Regions from separate parts of the Homo sapiens genome. Here region 1 is linked to region 2. Evidence: promoter capture Hi-C in 16 types of primary human blood cells and fetal thymus (Javierre and others, 2016). All regions are on one chromosome and are shown on one strand. The core of a region is centred on a gene start or on the middle of the fragment in contact, and the rest is flanking DNA. Distances in the headings are between cores, read along the strand shown.

Region 1 (4,171 bases), core at 1,645-4,144, 4.6 Mb after region 2:
GACAATGACTCGATGGATGTAGAGATGATCTTTGGGATGTTTATTTCCAAACTGCAAAACCTGAAAATCTCCAGCAACAAACAGGCTGTCATAACCTTTACTCTTAAAAGGGGGAGAAGAAAATCCCCTTCCCTCTCTATTTTGCCAAATTGAAGATACGGTTTCATGACTTGGGGTGGAAACAGCCCACCCAATGCTCTCCCATTTTACTGGGAAGAATTCAGGTTTCCTTAGAATCTAGGCTCTCTGTCAGTGTGAGCTGTCTGAATTGGAGTGTTCAGGCTGGACAGGTACTGCCCTAAAGCCAGGCTCAGAGCAGCCTGAGAATCCTCCTGCATCTGACTCTCTCCAATAATACTATCAACAGGTAGGTAGGAAGAAGAAAGGCTCCAACTGCTCTACGGGTTCAGACACACACATACGATGCCAGAACAGACTTCTCTCCCTAAGAACTGGTTCCAGGTAAGAGTAGAGGCTGTACCGCAGCCAGGACTACACAACTCAGAAATATTTAAGGGATTCTGTCCAGCTGAAATGGTAAGAAATCATACGAATTATCACCATGTTGAGCAGTGGCCTAGTTCATGTGTAGCATGTATCTCTCTTCAACTTTATTAGTTGTCTTGGAGGTTTGGTGCATGGTTGACACAACTTGATGAGCAATACTACAAAATGAGCAATACTACAAGAGAGGGTCTCTGACCATATATGGCAGAACGAGAAAAACATAGTCACATTACTTAAAAGGTACAACTTCAGAATCCAACATAGTTTAGTGGTATCAACACTTCAAACTGCATCAAAAAGCAAATATGACTTTGAAACCTGCCAGATGTCTCTCTCATACACACAGGTGCACATGTGATTTGTGTGTGCACCCATGTATATAAACAGTGTATGTGAGTATTCCAGGATGTTTCTGAAATGTAAGAAACCATGAAAAACTTCAAAAGGAAAAACTAAGTTTTCTAAAGTATCACATATCCACATTTATACTACAAAAAGTTACAGGTATAACCAAAAAGAACGAACCATTTTCTTGGGTTCTTTGAACACTGAAGCATAGAGATTGTGAAGCTCCAAATCTGAGAGCCTGCATCCTGTTTATCTGACTGCAAAGTTGCTCTCATGCATGTTCACATGTACATGCAAGGCAAGTTTTGAAGGAAAACAAAGAATCAGTATTAACACAACTCAAAAGGTGTGCCCCTCTAAAAGTACAACAATCTTACTTTTCTGTGCTGGACACAAATGTGGTGAGAAATGCCTCCTTCAAAGTCATAGTCTCTCAACACAAGTGTCAGCAAACTCTTGGAACTGCCTGTCACTTGTGGCATGAGCTTCATCTTGACATTAAAATTCTTTTTCTTTCCCCATCTTTTCTATCAAATATACGTTACAAAATGAAAAGGACACTCCTGTATTAGTAATAAATGCCAGCAAACCATTGAAAAATCAAAATGACAAAGTTATGTAGATCTGCCTCTCCACAGATAGTATGAAATAGCTAACCTGGGCTATCCTTGCATCGTACATCTGCATCTTATAAAGGTCAAATATTTAATAGAGAGGAACATCTGAAGGGCTCAACGAAAAGTACCAGAAGCCTCAATGACTGGGTGAATGAAATGGATAAACATGATCAGGTCAAAGGGACAGACTTAGACAAAGTATCTCCTCCTCTTTCCCTTTTTCTCCCCCACCTCTCACAAGGAAATGTCTTATTATCCACATTTCAAAAGGAGAAAACCTATGAGAAGCACATTTATCAGGGTTACCCAGGAAACCACAAGGACGAAGAAATACCTGAAACAGTACCCCCTCCCCTAGCGGGGCATAAACTTTTCAAAGTGTCACCCAATACACAAAACCCCAGCTCCTGAGGGGCTCAGGCAGCTCCGCCTGTGGGCCCCTGGGAAGTGAAAGCATTCCCTCTCCAGGCAGAGATCCCCGCGTTTTTACCTTTGTGTTCGCCGAAGCCTGTTCCCACTCCTCAAATGAGGCAAAGTAAAGTTTGAGAGCACAGTCCAAAAATTGGGGTCAGACATATCCATTTCTTTCTCTCTTCAATTCACTGTGGGTTCAAGGCCATATGACTAAAATGGGGAGAGGTAAAAAAAAGGAAGAAAGACAAGGCCAAAAATAAAAAAAAAATCCCAATTATCTACTCACTCCCTCCAGAGAAAATGTGATGGGAACTGTGATCTCAAGAACAACTTGGAGCATGTCTGAGAAGTACCCGTCCCGTCCTAGCCTTTAATTAACACACAGCCTCCTCTCAAAGGTCCGGGAAACTGATTTCCTCTCGGGTCTGCCCTCTCCTAGTCAGGCTCGGCCAGCTATAAACAGTAATTACATGAGTTGAGCCGTGCGTTCTGCTCAAAGCGCTGTCTGTGGGATTCAGTCGGAGGTACTTTGTCATCTGTTTGGCAGATACCACTCGCCGCTTCTGCGAGGGGCGGGGGAGACGACTATTTTGAGGCTTTGGTTCCGGAGGCTGTTGCTTATCAGCAAAACCATTCACATCCGAACATGCCCAGTGCCGAGTTTCCTTTTGGTATCTACATACAAGGAAAAGAATTTGAATAGAAAAAGCTGCTCTTGCCCTCCCCTCCTGAAAAAAGCGGAAACTTAAAAGCACTTTTAAAAAATGGGCCTATTGGAGGACTTGAACCTGACACCTTTGTGGACCCTTCCAGGGTCCGGCTGGGAGGAGGCGGCAGGGCCTTGTCCCTGGACAGCTTGGTGGCCGCGCCCCCAGCTTTCCTGCATCCCCCACCCCCCACCAGCCCCGGCCGCGCCTGAGGAGCGGGGGCTCACGGGAAAGGGAGCAGGCGGCCGCGGCGCGACCCCAGCCGGTGCCGGGACAGCCCCGCAGCCTGGGCCGCCGCTCCCCCTCCCCGGAGCCCGGAATGGATCCGTCCCGGAAATAAATAAATAAACCCGCGGCTGCTCCGGGTGTGTGCTGCGCGCACCTGAGGCCGACCTGTGATTCACCGCGGGAGGGATGGCAGTGACAACGCTCCGGGGAAGTCCACAGTGACTCCTCCGCCAGGACGCCGCTGGTTGTATAGGAAAAGCACGCGGACGGGAAGCCACACTCACCGAAAACCTCAGTAAACTAAATTTATGAGTTTACATCTGTTCCATCAATGACCACGGTGCACACCTGTTTGGCTTCATGGCCGGCAACTACAGATCTAGGTAATGGTGAGCCCCGATGTGGAAAGACACTACCTGGCATTTATGTGGCAAATGCTACAAGTATTGCCCCTTCAAGTACGTTAGACCTTGAAAGGGCAGAATGAAGGGGGCTGAATGTTCTTGTTATTCATTTTGAAGAAAGGCATGGTATTTAAATATCTCCCCCTATCCATGAATGTTTGTATAAAGTACATAAAGAAAAAATATAATTTAAATTAGCTGCCTTAAGTCTGGTGTAATATGGCAAGAAATACTAAATCAAAAAAGTATATATTCAGCAAAAAATACATCTAAAAATGGCTTAGTCCATGCAGTAAATACCAGGAACAAACTCGCTTACAAAAATGGGAGGATAAAGAGAAGGAAGAGGGGGTGTAAGCTGACAAGGTAGGCGGGGTAAACAAAAAGAAGCCTGCTGTGGGATCTTCTTTATCTAATTCTTGTGGCCCACATTAATATTTTCACACCAAGGACTCCAAGAGTTTTGGATGATGTTTCATGTCCAAGGCTTTCGTATGCGTTATCTCCTCACATTCTTACAGAGCCTCCACAGATCCTTGCAACCCACAGAGGTAGACAAAGAAGGCATTATTTTCTCAATTTTACATTTGGGACTTTATCCCAAACATTCAGGGACACTAAATGACAAAACACACTTCAATAGATATTAATGAGCTTGGTCCAGCATTTTTGCCCCATGCTCTTCTTTTAAAAAATGTTTCTAAGTATTGCAAAAGATGTTTTGAAGGCTGACACAAAAGAGTGTCCCTGTGCTCCGGAGCAGTTTCTAGACCTCAGCACTGTTGACATAGGCTGGATAATTCTTTGTCTGAGGAGCTTTCTTGAGCATTGGAGGATGTTTAGCAACATTGCTGACCTCGACCTACTAGATGCCAGTGCTGACAATTAAAAATGTCTGAGGACATTGCCAAATGTCCCTTGGGAGGTAAAATCACCCCTGGTTGGG
Region 2 (4,216 bases), core at 328-2,827:
AAATGTGGCTTTTGCATGGAAGATCCTCCTCTATCTGGCCCCATAATCAATCAATCCCATCACCAGACACTATTCAATGAATTCCATGTCCTAGACATGGAATTCAAGTCCTCACACCAGATATACACTTTCATAACTCAGTACCTATGTTCTTGTAACTCTCTTGGTTTATACAGTCTTACCTTCCATCCTGCACCCTGAACTTGGCCAGCTCTTACCCAAGATTCATCTCACCCATTACTTCCTATCGGTAGCTTTCTGTAACCACCTTCTCAAGCTTTAGACAACCCTTCTTACACTGTACCACAGTTACCTGCTTTCTTGTCCATCTTCCCTACAAAATTATTAGTTCCATTCCTACGCATCCATGCCAAATATCTAAAATAGTGCCTAGACCACAATAACCACTTAATAATTCTGAATTAAACATTCTGGACTGACAAACAATTGTGTGTTGTTTGCACTATTTAGATGTTATCTGTATAGGCTTAGAAATCGTGGGAACACAGTGAAATTTTCCAGCTCTGATATTTCGCAAGTTTTGAGTTTTTTGGCCTTATGATGCCTCCTAATTCCAAGAAAAGCCACTCAAAGATACTGTGGGATATTTTCTATTAACATAACCAACTTTTTTTTTTTTTTTTTTTTGAGACAGAGTTCGCTCTTGTTGCCAAGGCTGGAGTGCAATGGCACGATCTCAGCTCACTGCAACCTCCGCCTCCCAAGTTCAAGCGATTCCCCTGCCTCAGCCTCCCAGGTAGCTGGGATTACAGGCGCGCGCCACCATGCCCGGCTAATTTTTGTATTCTTAGTAGAGATGGGGTTTCACCACGTTGGCCAGGCTGTTCTCGAACTCCTGATCTCAGGTAATCCACCCGCCAGGGCCTCCCAAAGCGCTGGGATTACAGGCGTGAGCCACTGGGCTCGGCCATCATAATCAACTTTTAAACTCAAATTTCCTAAGCACAGCGCCCCTCGTTGGGCTGCTCTAGGCCAGTGGTTCCCAAAGCTGGCTGCCAAAAGTCCCCTAATGAGTTCACTAACAATATAAACACAGCGACTCCACCTGAGACCCACAAGGTCCAGAGTAGGGCTCAGGCAGCTATTCAGCTAGCTCCCCAGGTGGCAATTCTAAACCAGGCTTTAAGAACCACTGATTTCAAAGACACAAAGTACAGTGCCAGCTCTAAAAGTGAACTAAACTTTCTTGTATCTGTTAGGCTTTTCTTCTTCAAACTTCACGTGCGTCACAGAATCAACTGGGGCTCCGGACAAGAGAGCAGCAGTTGTTGAAGCGTGCCCCTCCTCCACTTGCTTCCTAGCCTGGCACCGGCGGCCAGGCCACCGGGGCGCTCAGCCTACCTGGTAGAGGGCAGAGCCCAAGTCCGGCTGGGTGCCCAGCGAGGCCACCGAGTCCCCGTGATAGGCGCGCGGCCCGGCGGGAGAGGCGCGGGCACACGGCCGCAGGGCTAACCTCAGGACGGCCCACATGGCGGCGGGCACCGAGCGAGAGAGCGGCCCACGCTGGCCTGGAGCCGGTGCTTTCCCCTGCCGCTTCCCTGGCTGGGGCGGAAGCTGAGCTCAGGTCCTTGCAGCCCCAGAGAAGGTTTCTCTGATTCTCAGGCCTGTCCACACACGTGCCTAAGCGCGCCGCCCGCGATTGGTCAAGCCGCGCCACGCCCCCTGACCCAGCCAATAAGGGACAGAGCCTCAGCCCCGCGAGGTCGCGTCTAGTCCCGAGCGCAGGAGAGCAGGTCTCCCCGGCGGATCGACCCTCACGAAGCGGTGCGGCAGTGAGAGAGCTGCGGTTGGGCTTGGATTGGTGTTGTGTTGACACAGCGATAGATAATATCACGATAGTGACTGTACCTAAGGCAGGAGAATAAGTCTGGAAGCAGGGAACCTAAGGCTGTCTCACGCTGACTTCCTAGAGCTAAACTGAAAGGAAAACCCTAACTTTCCATGCCTAAGTAACAAAAGGACCAAAGGCTACTCCCTTTGCAAACCCCCCCACCTTTTCCGCAGGGCAGATAGGAAATTGGCTGTCCCCGACAAATCAGACTTACTGCTGGTGGAGGCTTGCTTTGCCAAGTTTGAACCTTAACTCCAGCCTCTGAATGGTTGCTGTCCACAACCAATCAGACTGATTGGGGGTCCAGTCTTCGTTTGCATAGAAGTATAACTTTGTAATTTCACCCTAGCCTCTGACTGCTTGCTTCTTGCAACCAATCGGGTTTGAGGTGAGCATAAAATGGCCAATAGGAAACTTCTAGTGGGTATTTGGACCCAAGAAGATTCTATATCCGGGCCCTTGAGCTCTGCTCGGTCCGCTCCCACATTGTGGAGTGCACTTTCGTTTTCGGTAAATCCCTGCTTTCGTTCTTTCGTTGCCTTGTTCTTTCTTTGCTTTGCTGGGCGTTTTGTCCAATTCTTTGTTCACAATGCCAAGAACCTGGACAACTTGCAGTCACAACCCCCAGTGACACACCAACAACATGAGTGAATCGCATCTAACACGTGCTTGCGAACAGCACAACAAGCCTGTTGTCCTTTCACTGGAGACCTTAAACATTCTTCTGATTATTTTCGCTATGTAGTTATTTTTATTTTTTACTTTATTTCATTTTTTGAGACAGGGCCTCACTCTGTCGCCCAGGCTGCAATGCAGTGGCACGATCACAGCTCGCTGAATCCTTGACCTCCCACCTCAGCCTTTCCAGTAGCTGAGACTACAGGTTTGTGCCACCAAGCCCGGCTAATTTTTTATTTTTGTAGGGGTTTCACCATGTTGGCTATGCTGGTCTTGAACTCCTGGACTCAAGCGATCTGCCCGCCACAGCCTCCCAAAGTGCTGGGATTACAGACATGAGCCACCACACCAGGCACTATGTAGTGACAGATTGTGGACATCAGCACTGTGGTCTTAAATAAAGGACTCCAAATATACCCATAAAAATTAAAACATTCTATACAAAATGCCTTGAACTTAAGGTTTTTCATTCACATATTTATTGAGCACTTACTACTTCTACTCCATTGGTTGCTTAGTGGGGCAGAGTAAAGGGGGAGGATGGGGTAGAGAAAGGGTGCGTCTACACCTGGAGGTAAACTTAGGTTCAGACTTCAAGGTACTTATAAGAAAATAATACAAATGGCCACATGATTTCTTACTGAACTGTGTAGGACAGACATTAAAGGAACAGAATGCAATTGGGAAAGGGTTGCAGCTGAGCCTTGCAGAAGCGTTGAGAGTGGACTGAGCAATGAACATGGCCAGGCTTTGTGCAAATGGAGGAGAGCATGAGCTAAACTGCAAAGGTATGATTTACACTGTGCTTGCCTCCCATGGTCAACAGAAAAAAAGGCCAGTAAAAACTGACTTTTCATATGTATCAGGGTATCAGAAGAGAGGGTTTGATATTTTAATTGCCACACTTTATTTTTCTCTAAATAGTTCTTCAATGATGCAAAGTACTTAAAATCACCACCCGAAGACAGAAAAGACACAATAGGATATGATTCCTTGCTTTCTTTAAAAGTCATACCTGTTTTGGCCGGGTGCAGTGGCTCATGCCTATCATCCTAGCACTTTGGAAGGCCAAGGCAGGTGGATTATCTGAGGTCAGAAGTTTGAGAGCAGCCTGGCCAACATGGTGGAACCTCATCTCTACTAAGAATACAAAAATTAGCCAGGCATAGTATCACGTGCCTGTAATCCCAGCTACCTGGGAGGCTGAGGCAGGAGAATCGCTGGAACCCGAGAGGCAGAGTCTGCAGTGAGCCGACATGGCACCACTGCACTCCAGCCTGGGTGACAGAGCAAGACTCTGTCTCAAAAAAAAAAAAAAAAAAAGTCATACATGTTTCTTATTTCTTGTAACTTTTGTTACAAGAAGCTCTTTGGAAATGTATAATGTTCCCAGAACAGCTAAGTAGAAAAATGCAAAAGGTGAAGTGCAAATGCACAGAAGGCCAAAAGCAGTCACCTAGCATCTGTTAGTGTCCAGTGTCTCTCTACCCCACTATTGAGATTACAAGGAACATAATCTTTGCCATCTCTGATTTTTTAAAATAATGTTTTATTGAGGCCAGGAACTTGAAACTAGCCTAGGCAACATAGTGAGCCCATGTCTCTGAAAAATAAAAATAGCCATGCACAGTGGCATGTGCTTGTAGTCCTAGCTACTTGGAGGGTGAGGTGAGAGAATCACTTGAG

The links. The method cuts DNA at HindIII sites, captures the fragments that hold promoters and counts their contacts. A CHiCAGO score of 5 or more calls a contact.
Region 1: the fragment with the promoter of MAST4-AS1 here is called in contact with the fragment with the promoter of MCCC2 in region 2 in 3 of 17 cell types (naive CD4 T cells, non-activated CD4 T cells and total CD4 T cells); the score reaches 7.6 in naive CD4 T cells.

What each region holds. Positions count from the first base shown.
Region 1 is chr5:67,002,877-67,007,047 of GRCh38, reverse strand. MAST4-AS1 (MAST4 antisense RNA 1) reads left to right here and starts at 2,894. Exons shown (of 2, transcript NR_111908.1): 1 at 2,894-3,204. The region is part of intron 4 of MAST4 (microtubule associated serine/threonine kinase family member 4); the gene reads right to left. RefSeq lists a silencer at 2,677-3,016. The HindIII fragment of the contact is 7,419 bases long and covers 1-4,171 here.
Region 2 is chr5:71,584,701-71,588,916 of GRCh38, reverse strand. MCCC2 (methylcrotonyl-CoA carboxylase subunit 2) reads right to left here and starts at 1,577. Exons shown (of 17, transcript NM_022132.5): 1 at 1,363-1,577. The coding sequence starts at 1,491. RefSeq lists an enhancer at 1,132-1,918. The HindIII fragment of the contact is 6,273 bases long and covers 280-4,216 here.